2 separate regions of the Homo sapiens genome follow, and region 1 is linked to region 2. Evidence: promoter capture Hi-C in 16 types of primary human blood cells and fetal thymus (Javierre and others, 2016). All regions are on one chromosome and are shown on one strand. The core of a region is centred on a gene start or on the middle of the fragment in contact, and the rest is flanking DNA. Distances in the headings are between cores, read along the strand shown. Region 1 holds the start of LOC105376622 (a long non-coding RNA gene). Region 2 holds the start of HIPK3 (homeodomain interacting protein kinase 3).

The links. Contacts are between HindIII fragments. The CHiCAGO score rates a contact against its expected background, and 5 or more counts as called.
Region 1: a fragment that was not itself captured here is called in contact with the fragment with the promoter of HIPK3 in region 2 in 1 of 17 cell types (monocytes); the score reaches 6.3 in monocytes.

The regions. Positions count from the first base shown.
Region 1 is chr11:34,431,596-34,438,256 of GRCh38, forward strand. LOC105376622 (a long non-coding RNA gene) reads left to right here and starts at 694. Exons shown (of 3, transcript XR_931180.3): 1 at 694-852; 2 at 1,417-1,522; 3 at 4,651-4,727. It also overlaps the pseudogene CIR1P3. The HindIII fragment of the contact is 3,089 bases long and covers 1,805-4,893 here.
Region 2 is chr11:33,251,903-33,259,210 of GRCh38, forward strand. HIPK3 (homeodomain interacting protein kinase 3) reads left to right here and starts at 5,479. Exons shown (of 17, transcript NM_005734.5): 1 at 5,479-5,987. RefSeq lists silencers at 5,234-5,563, 5,824-6,163, 6,234-6,433 and enhancers at 6,774-6,823, 6,864-6,953. The HindIII fragment of the contact is 4,438 bases long and covers 4,705-7,308 here.

The sequences.
Region 1 (6,661 bases), core at 2,099-4,598, 1.2 Mb after region 2:
TTGTTTGGTCTTTCTGGAATCAATGCAAGTTCAGTTCCCACTGATGAGGCAGGTAGGCACTAGACATGATTTATTTGTTTCAGAATTTATATAGAGGACAAACAAGGAAATAAAATAACGTTTCTCTTTATTTTCTCAGTTAAAAAAAAAGAAGTAAATAGATCTTCATTTTCAGGTTGCCTGGAGCAATTGCTTTCCACATCTGACACAAGAAGGAGAATTTTGCTTCATGTCACAGTGTCTCAGAACTGAATCTGTTTATGTCCACGTATCCTGGAACAGGAGCTGCATATAAGATGATACAGGGCAACAGGTCCTCTTGCTTGGTGGAAAATGATTCTTTGAATGAACTTGTTTAGCTAAGTCTCTGCCTGCCCTTTGCTGTCAGGAAGGAGAGGCAGCTAGAGATCTTCCTCCTCCTCCTTCATCCTTGCTGCTCTGCAAGCTGCCTCTTCTCCAGCACTCTCATTCCTGCCTTTGGCTGTTCCTCAATCCCATGTGGCTCTCTAGGCCTGTCATGCTCTTATATTACAAATCCATAACAACTTCCCATTTTTTGTCTTTTAAAGACTGAGAAGAATGTCATTTTCTTGTGGTTCTTCTCAACTATGTGGGTACAAAACATGGATTTCACAATTGCTTTACTCAGGGTGCTTCCCGTAACACCGCGTCTTCAGGTGGGCAGAGGGTAGTGCAATGCTGGAGTTAAATTCTAAGAATGTAGAACACTCACTCAAGATCTTCCTTTATTCCTGCCCACTTTGTCACAGGCAGAACAACGTAGGAGTGGAGATGTGATCTCCAGAGCCACACTGTCTCGTTCGAATCCTGGCCCCATTGCAAACTATCTGGGTAACTTCGGGAGGTTACTTAACCTTTCTGTACCTTAGTGCCCTCAGATGTAAAGTGAAGGTAGTAAGAGTCCATTCCCTCTTATAGGATTGTTATAAGGATTAGATGGGTTAATATTGGAAAATCCCTCAGTGTAGAGCCTAGACATAGTAAGAGCAATATTAAGTGTTTGTCAATTAAACAAAATATGTTTTGAAAGGATGGTTTTGTGGGATAGGAAGGTTTGGTTTAGGGCAGTGGTTGGCCTTTGTTCATCATAATGTGACCTTGGAGCCAAACTTCAGTGTCCAGAGGCAGTCTCTGAACTACAGCACATCCCGCAAGGATGAGTATAATAGTATATCCTACAACAAAGTTTGCTGTATTTTCTGAACAGCGTTGCAACTCATACAAGAGCTACATGGCACTCCAGAATAAATAGAAATACTAATAATCAGATAATACAGATAACTAACTCATATGGTTCATATAATCTTCCCTAAACCTCCAACTACCCTTGGAGGTCAGTGTGGCCGGTGCTGCTGATCAGCCACCGATATTCACTTCCCTTTTCTTTTATAATAGAATGCCTGAGTTTTGTCAAGCCCATGGCCACCCAGCCAGTGACTACATTTCCCGGTTTCCTGTATAGCTAGGCATAGCCATGTGACGAAATTCTGGCCAATGGAATGTGAGTAGAAATAAAGTGTGCTATTTCCAAATTGTGCCCTAAAAAGGAAAGGACATGGGCTCCCTTTGCTCCTTTGTCCCCCTTCCCACTGGCTGGCATGCAGTTATGATCAAGTGAGCAGCTACATTGGACTCAGAGATGGAAGCTATGTATTGAGGATGGCAGAGTTGCCTAACCAGCCCTGTACCATTTAGGTCTGAAATGCTTTATTGTGAGAGAAATAAGCTTTGATCTTGTCTATGCTATTTTGTTGGTTTTTTGGGAGGCTCTTTTTGTTATAGAAGCTTGGGTGATACCTAATATAGAAGGTGTTACTATCTCCATTTTACAAAAGCAACATGGTAGCTTAGAAAAATTAAGTGACTTGCCCAAGTTCACACAGTTTGTAAATGGCCATGGTGGGATTTGACCCCAAGTGCTCTGATGCTAGCGCTGGGGCTGTTAACCATGTACCATGCTATTTTTTCTCTTGAGCCCTACTAGGTAATGATCTGGGTTTATGGTAAAGAAAGGGAGAAGAGAGCTACCTGTTCCGTTCCCCCTAGTTGACCATTCCTAGCTATGACCAATGGTTCCACCCAAACATGTATACTTCATAACTATTCATTTCTCCACAGATGCATAATTGTGTGTGCTCTCAGTCCATAATGAATGTGTTGATTGTCTATGAGGTTTGACTTTTTATTTTTATTGTCAGAGTACAAGAACCCATGTCTGGTTTCTGCAAACAGACTTAAACCCAAGGTCAAGCCCAGGTGCAACATTTAAAGCATAAACAAGGGAGGCAAGCAAAATACCTCTGAGAGAGCAGCACTGGAAAAATAACTTCAATCCAAGCATGTGAATCCCAGTAGTTAAACATGACTGGTTGACCCAGGCCTTGCAGGAGCCCAGAGGCAAGGAGGGAATGTGGGTGAGCCGCAGGAGCTTAAGCTAGTCAAAGTCAAGTTCAGAGGCCAGTGGACCTGCACAAACTTGAAAAAGGCTCAACACCTGTTGTAAATATTTGCTTGCTACTGAGTCCTACTCAAGCCATCTCCATATCACCATGAATGAAGTCAGACTTTTAGGGAAAAGTGGTTAACAATCTGGATTTCTGCGGTAGCAGGGTGGATCATATAATGCTTACTCCTGACACCACGCCTGACACCTATTCAGTTTCTCAGCTTTACTCAAAGCCTCCATGACTTAGCAGGTTCAGGTTAGGCGACCTTCTTAGGTAATCCTAATAACAGCTGGCCTTCCCTTCTCTCAGCACTTTTTCCCCGTGTTATTGTCTGATTATTTGTCTATGTCCACGTCCTTTGCTGTTGTACTCCCAGAGCCCAATAGGCAGGGGGCCCAGGACACAGCAGACATCCAGTATATTGGATGACTCCCATGGGTTAGTGGTTATGGCTGAACATAACATGAGAGGCCTTCTCTCTCAGAAGAATGTGATGAAATATGCAATTGATGAACATCCAGAATCCAGATATTCACCTGTCTTGAAAATTGCACTTCCAATCCACACTCTCAGTGCCTGTGACAGTATAAACTAGCTCGAGCATTGCAGAAAACAATCAACAACATGTCACAAGAACCTTAAAAAGTTCAAATGACTTGAACCAAAAATGACCTCTGAAAACAGGTCCTAAGGAAATAAATACAAATGTAGAGGAAGGATGTCACTGTACTGTTATAGAAGAAAACAATTTAAATGTTCTCAGTAAAGGAGTATGTAAATAAAGGAATAGTCCTTTGATTGCAAATTGTGTAGGCATAGGAGAAAAATATCACATTTTGGAAAAAGATTTAATGACTTGGAAAAAGTTTTATCTGATAATGTTAGGTGGAAAAAGCAGGATATAAGATTATGTATTCTATAGGATCCATTGTAAAACTCTCTCTCACACACACACACACACTCCTTTACAAACATATAAGAGAGAAAATATTGGTAAAAATGTTACCTGTTTATCGTAATCTTTGAATGATTGTTTGATATTTTATCCTGCATTTTCCAAGCCTCCATTAGTAAGTATAAAAAATAAGTTAAGGGCCGGGCGAGGTGGCTCACGTCTGTAATCCCAGCACTTTGGGAGGCCGAGGTGGGTGGATCACGAGGTCAGGAGATCGAGACCATCCTGGCTAACACGGTGAAACCCCGTCTCTACTAAAAACACAAAAAAATTAGCTGGGTGTGGTGGCGGGCGCCTGTAGTCCCAGCTACTCGGGAGGCTGAGGCAGGAGAATGGCATGAACCCAAGAGGCAGAGCTTGCAGTGAGCCGAGATCTTGCCGCTGCACTCCAGCCTGGGTGACAGAGCGAGACTTCGTCTCAAAAAAAAAAGAAAAAAAAGTGAAGGTAAAAACAAATTCCCAATTATTATTTCTATGTTTCTTCTGTTTTTTGTTTTGTTTTGTTTTTGAGACGGAGTCTTGCTCTGTCACCCGGGCTGGAGTGCAGTGGCATGACCCCGGCTCACTGCAACCTCTGCCACCTGGGTTCAAGCGATTCTCCTGCCTCAGCCTCACGTGCAGCTGGGACTACAGGCAAGAGCCACCACGCCCAGCTAATTTTTGTATTTTTAGCAGAGACAGGGTTTTGCCATGTTGACCAGGCTGGTCTTGAACTCCTGACCTCAAGAGATCCACCTGTCTTGGCCTCCCAAAGTGCTGGGATTACAGGCATGAGCCACCAGGCCTGGCCTATGTTTCCTTTTTTTGCAAACACCAGATCAGTAGCGTGGCACGTAAGGCCGAGGCGGGAAAAGGCACATCCATGTTCTTCTCCTTAGCATAGCTCATGCTATGGCCATCACCAGACACCAGAGGACATCTGGGTTGCCTCCTCCCAAGTAGGCAATTATTCATATTAAAGCGGGAAAGATATGGTGCAGCCAAATAGGCAGAGCAGAAGGTATGTGCTGCTACTGCATATAACACCACTGCTACTTTTTAAAGCAAATCCCACCTTCTTCTTTGGCTTGCTCAAGCCTGTTCCACAGTGAACAGGAGTCATGGAGCTGTGGTGATGTTTATTCTCTTCTCTTAAAGCCAACAGCCAATACTGAATTGTAACTCTCTTTGTTTCTTGTTGTGTTCTTTTCTCTTCCTTTTTGCCTAACTCTGAATTTACCTCACAAGGCCACTGTGAAGAGAATGAAACTGAAATATGTAGAACATTCTCGGCCTCTCTGAGGATGGGTGGAATCAGAACAGAGTAATTACCCCTTGTGCTGTCTTGTATGCCTGTCATCCAACAACACATGATGTTCATTCTCTCCATTCTTTTCTTGCAATACTGATGAAATAAAATTTGTCTATAAAGATTCCTAGCTGAGTACTCAAATGTTTTTCTTGAACATTTGTTACATGGTCTACTTTGCAAGCTTGGTTTCAAATTTGTTGATACCAGGATTAATAACAGTATGTCTTGTGCCAGTATATTTTATTTTCATTGAGTTCTGAAAATTGACTTCAGAGAACAGCATTTTTAAAATAACATTTTTATTTATATCAATAAAAATACCCATGAATTCATATGACTAAAATATTAAAACCTAGAACCCAATTTGTTTACCTAACCAATCACTTGCAATTACCTTTAGGTAATTGTATTGGTTTGGTTTCAAGTATTTTTTAACTAGGGCTGATTTTAAGAAGTGTTTTCATTTAAGCTGTAATTATAGTCGATAGAACTTCCACCTAATATGTGACTTTTTTTAATTTTTAATTTTTTTGAGATGAAGCCTCACTCTGTCACCCAGGCTGGAGTGCAGTGGCACAATCTTGGCTCACTGCAACCTCCGCCTCTTGGGTTCAAGTGATTCTCTCGCCTCAGCCACCTGAGTAGCTGAGACTACAGGCGTGTGCCACCACGCCCAGCTAATTTTTGTATTTTTAGCAGAGGTGGGGTTTTACCATGTTGGCCAGACTGGTCTCGAACTTCTGGCCACAAGTGATCCGCCTGCCTCGGCCTCCCAAGGTGCTGGGATTACAGGCGTGAGCCCCCGCACCCAGCCTCCTATGTAACATTATAAATTTATTGTCATTACTTGTAAGCCTGCCCTTTATTTTAAAATACAAGATATGACAAGATCAGAAACCAGTCTTGTTTCTCCATTTCTTTCTCTAGAAATAATTCTTTAGGAATTCAAATCCATAGTAACAAAAACAAAGGAAAAAAAAACATGCTTTTTTTTATATAATGAATAAAGGTTAAGAAATGACTCCAGGTCTCTTATTTATTTTGTTGATATTTGTGTTGGTTAGTTAAGAAGATGATTTGCTCGATTATTTCAACATTTATTTATTCAACAAACTGTGGACTTTGGAGATGAACAGCTGAAGCTAGAATCCTGACTATCCCTTAATAGCTGTGTAACTTTGGGCAAGTTATTTAACCTCCCTATACCTCTGTTTCCTAATCTGTAAAATGAAGATAATATTAGTATCTAACTCATAGGGTTGTTGGGAGGGTTAACTAAGCAAATATACAAAAAGCTGAGAATAGTCCCTGGTATATAGTAAGTGCTCAATAAATTATGGATGGGAGGATCCTGACCCACATGGAGTTTACAGTCTTGGCAGTATGGATCGGGCAGGTAGAAAAAGACACCAAATTACACAGCCAACAGCATCTTTATAATTGTTTTTAATATAGGAAAAGTATAGGGTGCTAAAGATCAATTTGTGGCTTTCTTTTCCAATGAACTGCTAAAGTTCCACTTTTATGCCCAAGATTCTTATCATACTTTTGTAAGATCAAGAACAACATGTGAAGTTTCCACTATTATATATCCACCCATTATATGTAGTTGTACTGGAAAAAATTAAAAGCTGATAACTTTTAATTTGAAGATGATGGTATATACTATGTATATATATTAAGGTGCTTAAAGATAAATCCTAGCACCTGAGGAGGTGTAGAAATCATTCAAACTCTTTGATTACAATGACAAACTAGTCAGTAACTTACTAAATATTGTACTATATATTACTAAGTATTTTACTCTTCAACATAGCTTTTTAAAGACACAAAGCTTTTCAAAATTCCTGCTTACCTGGGGGTAAAATTTGGGGAAGCAGATTTCTCCAGTGTTTAAAGAAGCCAATTTGGCAGTGTACCAGAGTTGAATACATTTTTCCCATCACA
Region 2 (7,308 bases), core at 4,229-6,728:
TGTATATTATGCTTTATGGGTAATTGAGGTAATTTTCAAGGATTAATTTTACTATGTGAGATTTTTGCCTTGCGCTGACTGTAGTACCTAACTCCCAGATAAAGATGAGATTGTGAACTTCTAAAAATATGAGTGTTTTATCTGTAAAATTTAGTGGAAACAGTTTCTTTCTTCTTTTTTTTTCAGAAGGAGAAACAAATCTTTGGGCTGCAAAGAGTTACTTGACTGGGCTTTTTGGTTATGCAGAGTGGTAGGAGTGGCACACTCCTGAATGGATTTTTTTTTTTTTTTTCCATTCCAGTTGCCCCTTCCTGAGGCTCGGGTATACAAAGCTGATCTCCAGGAAGAAGACAGATTATTTATATAAGAAAGCCAGGACTGCCGGGCGTGGTGGCTCACACCTGTAATCCCAGCACTTTGGGAGGCTGGGGTGGGCGGATCACCTGAGGTCAGGAGTTGGAGACCAGTCTGATCAACACGGTGAAACCCTGTCTCTCCTAAAAACGCATAAATTAGCCGGGCGTGTTGGTGCACGCCTGTAATCCCAGCTACTCGGGAGGCTGAGGCAGGAGAACCGCTTGAACCCGGGAGGCAGAGGTTTCGCTTGAACCCGGGAGGCAGAGGTTTCGGTGAGCTGAGATCGAGCTATTGCACTCCAGCCTGGGCAACAAGAGCGAAACTCCACCTCAAAAAAAAAAAAAAAAAAAGCCAGGACCTCCTGGGAGGGAGGAGACAGAAGTCCCCTTGGTGAACCTCTCCTCCTTGATATTAGTAACTAGGGGGCTATTTTTGGTTGACAGGGTACCTCCTATTCTCCCAAGGTGTAATGGTAAGAAAGGATACCCAAGGACTAGAGAAAAAAACAAAAACAAAACAACAACCAACTTCCCTGAGGAAGGGGAGTGTGGATTGGTGACTCAGGCTCTGAAAAAGTTCCCAGCTTTTTCTTGAAACTGCATGGCTTTGGACAGAAGCGTCGGCATCATTTGTGGAGACTGCGGAGGGCCATCTCTTCACAGGAACACCTATATGTGGTTTAACGAGGAGCAATGGCAGCGAAGAACACAAGGTGAGTGCGAGGAGGACTGGCCTCCTTTGGGAAGAGTAATGTTATTTTTATTTATTTATTTTTTTAGGCAGAGTCTCATTCTGTCACCCAGGCTGGAGTGCAGTGGTGTGATCTCGGCTCACTGCAACCTCTGCCTCCCAGATTCAAGCTATTCTCATGCCTCGGCCTCCCGAGTAGCTGGGATTACAGGTGTGTGCCACCACATCCAGCTAATTTTTGTATTTTTAGTAGAGACGGGGTTTCACCATGTTGGCTAGGTTGATCTCGAACTCCTGACCTCAGGTGGTCCACTCGCTTTGGCCTTACAAAGTGCTGCGATTACAGGCATGAGCCACCACGCCTGGCCTGGGCAGAGTAATTTTTGGAGGTAGAGGTGGGAGGAATAGCTGAGAGAGAGGGCTTGGATTTCATGGCTAGGTGATCTCAAACAATTGTGACTGCTCGCAGTCTGAGTTTATGGAGGGTTTCTTACTGATTCCATAGAAAATTTATTTTTTCACTTTACAAATATTTGAGTTCCCTTTACATGCAAGGCCCTGTTCTAGGCTCTGGGGATCAAAGCATCAAGAAAACAGACAAAAATTCTTGCCCTGTGAAAGCTTACCTTGAGGGACAAGGGAACAGAAAATATATATCATAGTATCTAAGATGATGGCAAGCCCTAAAGAGAAAGATAAAGACAGGGAATGTAAATATAGGTGGTCATCGCTGAAGAGGAGGCTTCACCATGAAGGCAATATTTGAGTAAGGACAGGAAAGAAAGGTGGATGGCTATACTTGAGGAATGTTTCAGGCAGAAGGTGATCCAGGCACCTACGGAGCTCCAGAGAGTGGCTGGAGTAAGGAGACAAAAAGTTGATTGAGTTCCTTGTGGGCTAGTTCTGTGAAGGATTTTATTTGTTTATTTACTTACTTACTTACTCAGAGACAGGGTCTTACTCTGTCGCCCAGGCTGGAGTGCAGTGGTGTGATCACAACTCACTGCAGCCTCAGGGCCCATCTCAGCCTCCCGAGTAGCTGGGACTACAGGCGTGCACCACCAGGCCAGGCTAGTTTTTGTATTTTTTGTAGAGAGAGAGGGGTTTTTGAAGAGGCTAGGTCTTGCTCAGTGATAGAATTACAGGTGTGAGCCACCAAGTCTGGCCCTTAAGTAATTTTTTTGAATGAAAACATTAAGGTTTTCTTTAGTATCTTCCTGTTTTATTTTTTAGAGGCAAGATCTTGCTCTGTCACTTAGCCTGGAGTGCAGTGGCGAAATCACAGCTCACTGCAGCCTGGAACTCATGGGCTCAAGCAATCCCCCAACCTCAGCTTCCCAAAGTGCTGGGATTACAGATGTGAGCTACCATGCCCTCCCCCAGCCTGCATTTTTGAGAGATCTTAGCACTATGAGAAATTTTCCTTAAAAAAAAAAAACAACCCTCAAACTTTGTAAAATAGCTACATTAGGGGCTTTGGGAGATTATCTAGATGTTTGTGTTCAGAATAGATTTGAAAGCCAGGCGCAGTGGCTCACACCTGAAATCCCAGCACTTTTGGGAGGCTGAGGTGGGCGGATCACTTGAGGCCAGGAGTTCCAGACCAGTCTGGCCAACATAATGAAACCGCATCTCCATACTAAAAATAAAAAAAAAATAGCTGGCTGTGGTGGTGCGTGTCTGTAATCCCAGTTAGGTGGGAGGCTGAGGTGGATGGATCCCTTGAGCCCAGGGAGTTGAGGCTGTGGTGAATGGAGATCACACCACTGTGCTCCAGCCTGGGTGACAAAATTAGACTCTGTCAGGTCAGGAGATCAAGACCATCCTGGCTAACATGGTGAAACCCCATCTCTACTACAAATACAAAAAATTAGCTGGGCGTGGTGGCACGGGCCTGTAGTCCCAGCTACTTGGGAGGCTGAGGCAGGAGAATCGCCTGAACCTGGGAGGCGGAAGTTGCAGTCCCAGCTACTTGGGAGGCTGAGGCAGGAGAATCGCCTGAACCTGGGAGGCAGAGGAGCTGATATCGTGCCTCAAAAAAAGAAAGATTTGAAGGGGAAGAGATTAGAGGTAAAGAAATTAGGTTAGGAGACAATAGGTATAAAGTGAAGGGGGGCTGGAATATATCATTTACTTATTTTGCAACATTTACTAAGGTCTTACCACAAGTCAGGCACTGTATTAGGCACTTGCAATATAATGGTTAAAAAAAAAGATGAGGCCGGGCGTGGTGGCTCATGCCTGTAATCCCAACACTTTGGGAGGCTGAGGTGGACAGAGCACGAGGTCAAGGGATCGAGACCATCCTGGCCAACATGGTAAAACCCCGTCTCTGCTAAAAGTACAAAAATTAGCTGGGTATGGTGGGGCATGCCTGTAGTCTCAGCTATTCGGGAGGCTGAAGCAGGAGAATTGCTTGAACCCTGGCAATAGAGCGAGACTTCATCTAAAAAAAAAAAAAGATGAATGAATCCCCTCCTGGAATATATAGTGTAGTGAGTAGCAACATGCAGGAGATAGAAAGGAAAATAAATCCTTGTCTCTCATTTCCATCTCTTCATGGATGTAGCAAATACAGGGAATGGAAGCCTTCCATTAGAGATGGCCTCCTTAAATGTCTGCAAAAATTCTGAAATTTGAAGTTCTAGTGGAATAGTTTCTCTGTTCCTCCTGACAGATTTTTCTACTATTGTAGCTTTCTCCGTTGAGTAAATGATTTTATCCTCTTTGATTCTTTTGACTATTGTTCTTAAGAAAAATAAAAAGTAACGAAATACTAAGTGAAAAGGAATGGTTCATAGGCTATCTCTCTGAAAGGCAGCCATTGTTTTGTTCTTCTATATTGGAAGCCTTTTCAGCTGGTTATCCTCTCTAACCTGAAAACAACTGTCATTCGAAAGTGTTATTTCCAGTGGCCTCAGGGCATACTATCCTTTCTCTTTTATTTTATTTTTTGAGACAGAGTCTCTCCCTGTCGCCCAGGTTGGAGTGCAGTGGCTCAAGCGATTCAAGCGATTCTCTTACCTCAGCTCTCGAGTAGCTGGGATTACAGGCGCCCGCCACCACGCCCAGCTAATTTTTGCATTTTTAGTAGAGACCAGGTTTCACTATGTTGGCCAGGCTGGTCTTGAACTCCTGACCACAGGTGATCCACCCGCCTCAGCCTCCCAAAGTGCTGGGATTACATGTGCGAGCCACCGCGCCCGGCCTCCTTTGTCTCTTAAAGGCATTATCCAAAATACTCATCTTCCGGTTTGAAGAGCAGCAGGGATTAAATGTGTATTATGTATGCAGCAATTTGCCACTCCCTTTGCCCTGCCCCAGTTACTGCAATAGAAAATTTCTGGGAATAAATACATCTCTGGTAAATTCAATCTTGCTAGTGAAGATTATGAAGGAAACAAAGAAAGGACACTTCCATTCCAGAAAGGTGTTTGTTTCCCAAAAGGTTAGACATTGATTCAGAACAAAGGGAACCTGAGGAAACGGGTATAAAAGAAAATCAACTCTGAATGTGAGGTATTAGAAAGCCATTTGTTTCCTAGGGAAAAGGAGGAAAGATGGGGTGGGAGACATGGGCTTTACTGTATAACCTTGGTCATGTCACCTAAACTTCTTGGAACTCCTGAGTGTAAGAGTTGGGACCAAGGATCGCAAAGCTTCTTTCATTCCTAAAATTCTATGGTTCCACGATTATGTAAGCTGAAACAGGCCATTCTGTTGATTTCCTAATCTCCAGGAGGAAAGAAACTAGTCTTTGGGAGTTAAACCGACTAATTTAACGGAGAATTACCAATGTGGAGGTGGGCGAACTTCACAATTATGGGGTTTTGGACAGTAGAGATGCTCTTAAAATTTCCAAGAGGACCCTTCCCCCGTCCTTGAACCTGGCTTTACAATTCTCTTCACTCTTTGGGATAGGGGAGCGGGTAGAACCTAGTTTAGATTGAGGTCGTTCATTTGAGCATTTCCCCTTTACTTATTTTGGGACCTTTAACGACCAAATGCCGAGAAACAGATCCTTAATTACGGTTCCGGGATCTCGAAAGGCCTGTAAAATCCTGCTTCCGCATCTTCATCCTTTCTTCGGGTATTGGGATCTTTTTTAAAAATGTGTATTTCTGGCGGAGGGGGCATGGAGTGAGGTTCAGAACAGCAGAGCCGGGCTGACGGATGCTTCTTTCGCGGGAGGCTTGGCTTGCGGGACTCCGGGTTGGGGCCGCACGGGCTGGCAGGCGGGCTCCGGGCAACAAGGGCGCGGCTGCGGACTGGCGGGCGGACCCCGGGGAGGGGCTTCACGGAGGCGCCGCGGCCGGAGCGGAGCGGAGCCGCCCGGGCTGGGCGCGCAGCGCTGCCGGGCGGGCGGTGGCGCTGCGGAGGCGGTGGCCGAGGCCGACGAGCGCGGAGGAGGGGCCCGAGGCTGGGGCGGCTGGTGGCAGCTGCCTCAGTGACGACTGCCGGCATCGCGGCGACCTGAGGAGATCAAGCCGCAGGCCCCGCCGTCGCCACCACTCCCGCCAGTCTTCCTTCTCCGCTCCCGGCCGGGGCGTCAGGAATGGGCCCCAATCGCCGTGGGCCCCGCACCCTGCGTCGCCCGTAGGCCCCAGTAGCCGGAGGCCGACCGGCCTCCCACTACCCCTCGCCCTAGCCAAGCCGTCCCCACCCCAAATCCCCGGGAAGGAAGATGAGGGAGACGGGCCCGGCGCTTAGCAGCCAGAGCAGCAGCAGCAGCAGCAGCGGTCGGGGGAGGGTGTTTCGCCGTTTCCTCTCAGCCGCCAGGACAAGATGGCAGCGGCCGCGGAGAGGGGCTGAGCCCGGGCTGGGTGGTGCCGCCTGCTGAAGCGCCTGGCTCCCGGTCCCCGGCACGGCCCTGCGCCCCACCCCGGACATGCTCAGGGCTGCGGCCGCCCGAAGAGGAGAGAGCGCGGGCCTCTAGGAAGGTAAGGGAGTCGAGCGAGGGGCGCCGCCACCCCGGGGTGGGGGGATCGGCTCCGTCTGCGGGCTCCGCGGCCAGCGGACCCCAAGCCTGACCCGGGCCTGGCCCGACACCTCCGGCGCAGCCCGCACTCATTGCGCGTCCCGTGCCCCATCCGCATCCCCAGCGCTCTCGTGCTCCCAGTTTCCGCCCTAGCCCCTGCAGTGTGGCCCGGTATGAGCCGCTCCCTCGAAGCCGGCGCCACGCCAGGCCCTGGGCCGCCGGACGCGGGGGCCGTAGCCTCCGGGAAGCCGCGCCTGGCCGGGGCCCGGGGGCCTCGGCCCCCCCTCCCCCTGCCAAGGTTGCGCAACGGCTCTTCCCAGCAACCGAAGTTTTGTTTAGTCCCACGGGGAGCCTCTCTTCCCCCTCCGCAGTCCTAGGCCGTAACTACGGAGATCCCTTTCCTTTCATTAAGGGGAACAAACAAACGCGCAGGCACGCAGCTTGAGCACCCCAGCCGATGGCCGCGTCCCGGGCTTTGTGGCCCCGTCCCCAGCGTCGCGGAGCAGCGGGTTTGCAGGGTGTCAACTCTGGGGACGTGCGTGCGTGTGTGTGATTGTTGGGGAGGAGAAATGTGATCCGCGGCTCCGCGTCCCCAGCGGCGGCGGGAGGAAGGCGTGGCGGCCGCGCGGCGGGGCTGTTGCCGGCTTCTCTCGTTACGGTGGCTGCCGCCCGCTTCCCTTCGCCGCACTGGGAGAACTGGCGGAAAGACTTTGGATGAAAATGTCTGTTTCTCTGTCGGGAGGGAGACGGCTGTTGTAAAATGGTATGTGGCTCTCGGGGAATCCTGTTGTTCCCGTCTCATCTCTGCTTGAGGAATTGCGCTGAAGAGTGTGTGCGTAAATTACCTTGGACTTGTTACAGAGTAGTCGTAACACGTTCAGGCCTTGAACCGTGTTTTCACAACCTCTTACTGCCCTGTTAGGGAATTTGTTTTTCCACCTGTCAGTTGGCTGCTTCTAATTATAATAAGGGGCTTCTATTAGCAACAGCAAAAAATTTCAGTTTATCGTCCAGTTTAGAGGGAAAGCGCATGGTTGGCTCTATTGTAAACTTTGTTTTGATGTCTGTCTGGTACAGGGCCGGAAAAGTTAGCTGGCAAACCAGTCTGCGTGTGCTTTTGCGTACTTTCTAGTAGTTTGGAGATCTGCTGACACTTTTTCCCTTTTTGCTATTTTAGGTATTTGCTTTTAGCTGTAGCTTCTGAAGTGGGAGTACTTATATTCATTCAAACCATCTCAGTTAATTTCAAAGTTTTAGTTGCTGGGCTCTTTAAAATTTTTAAA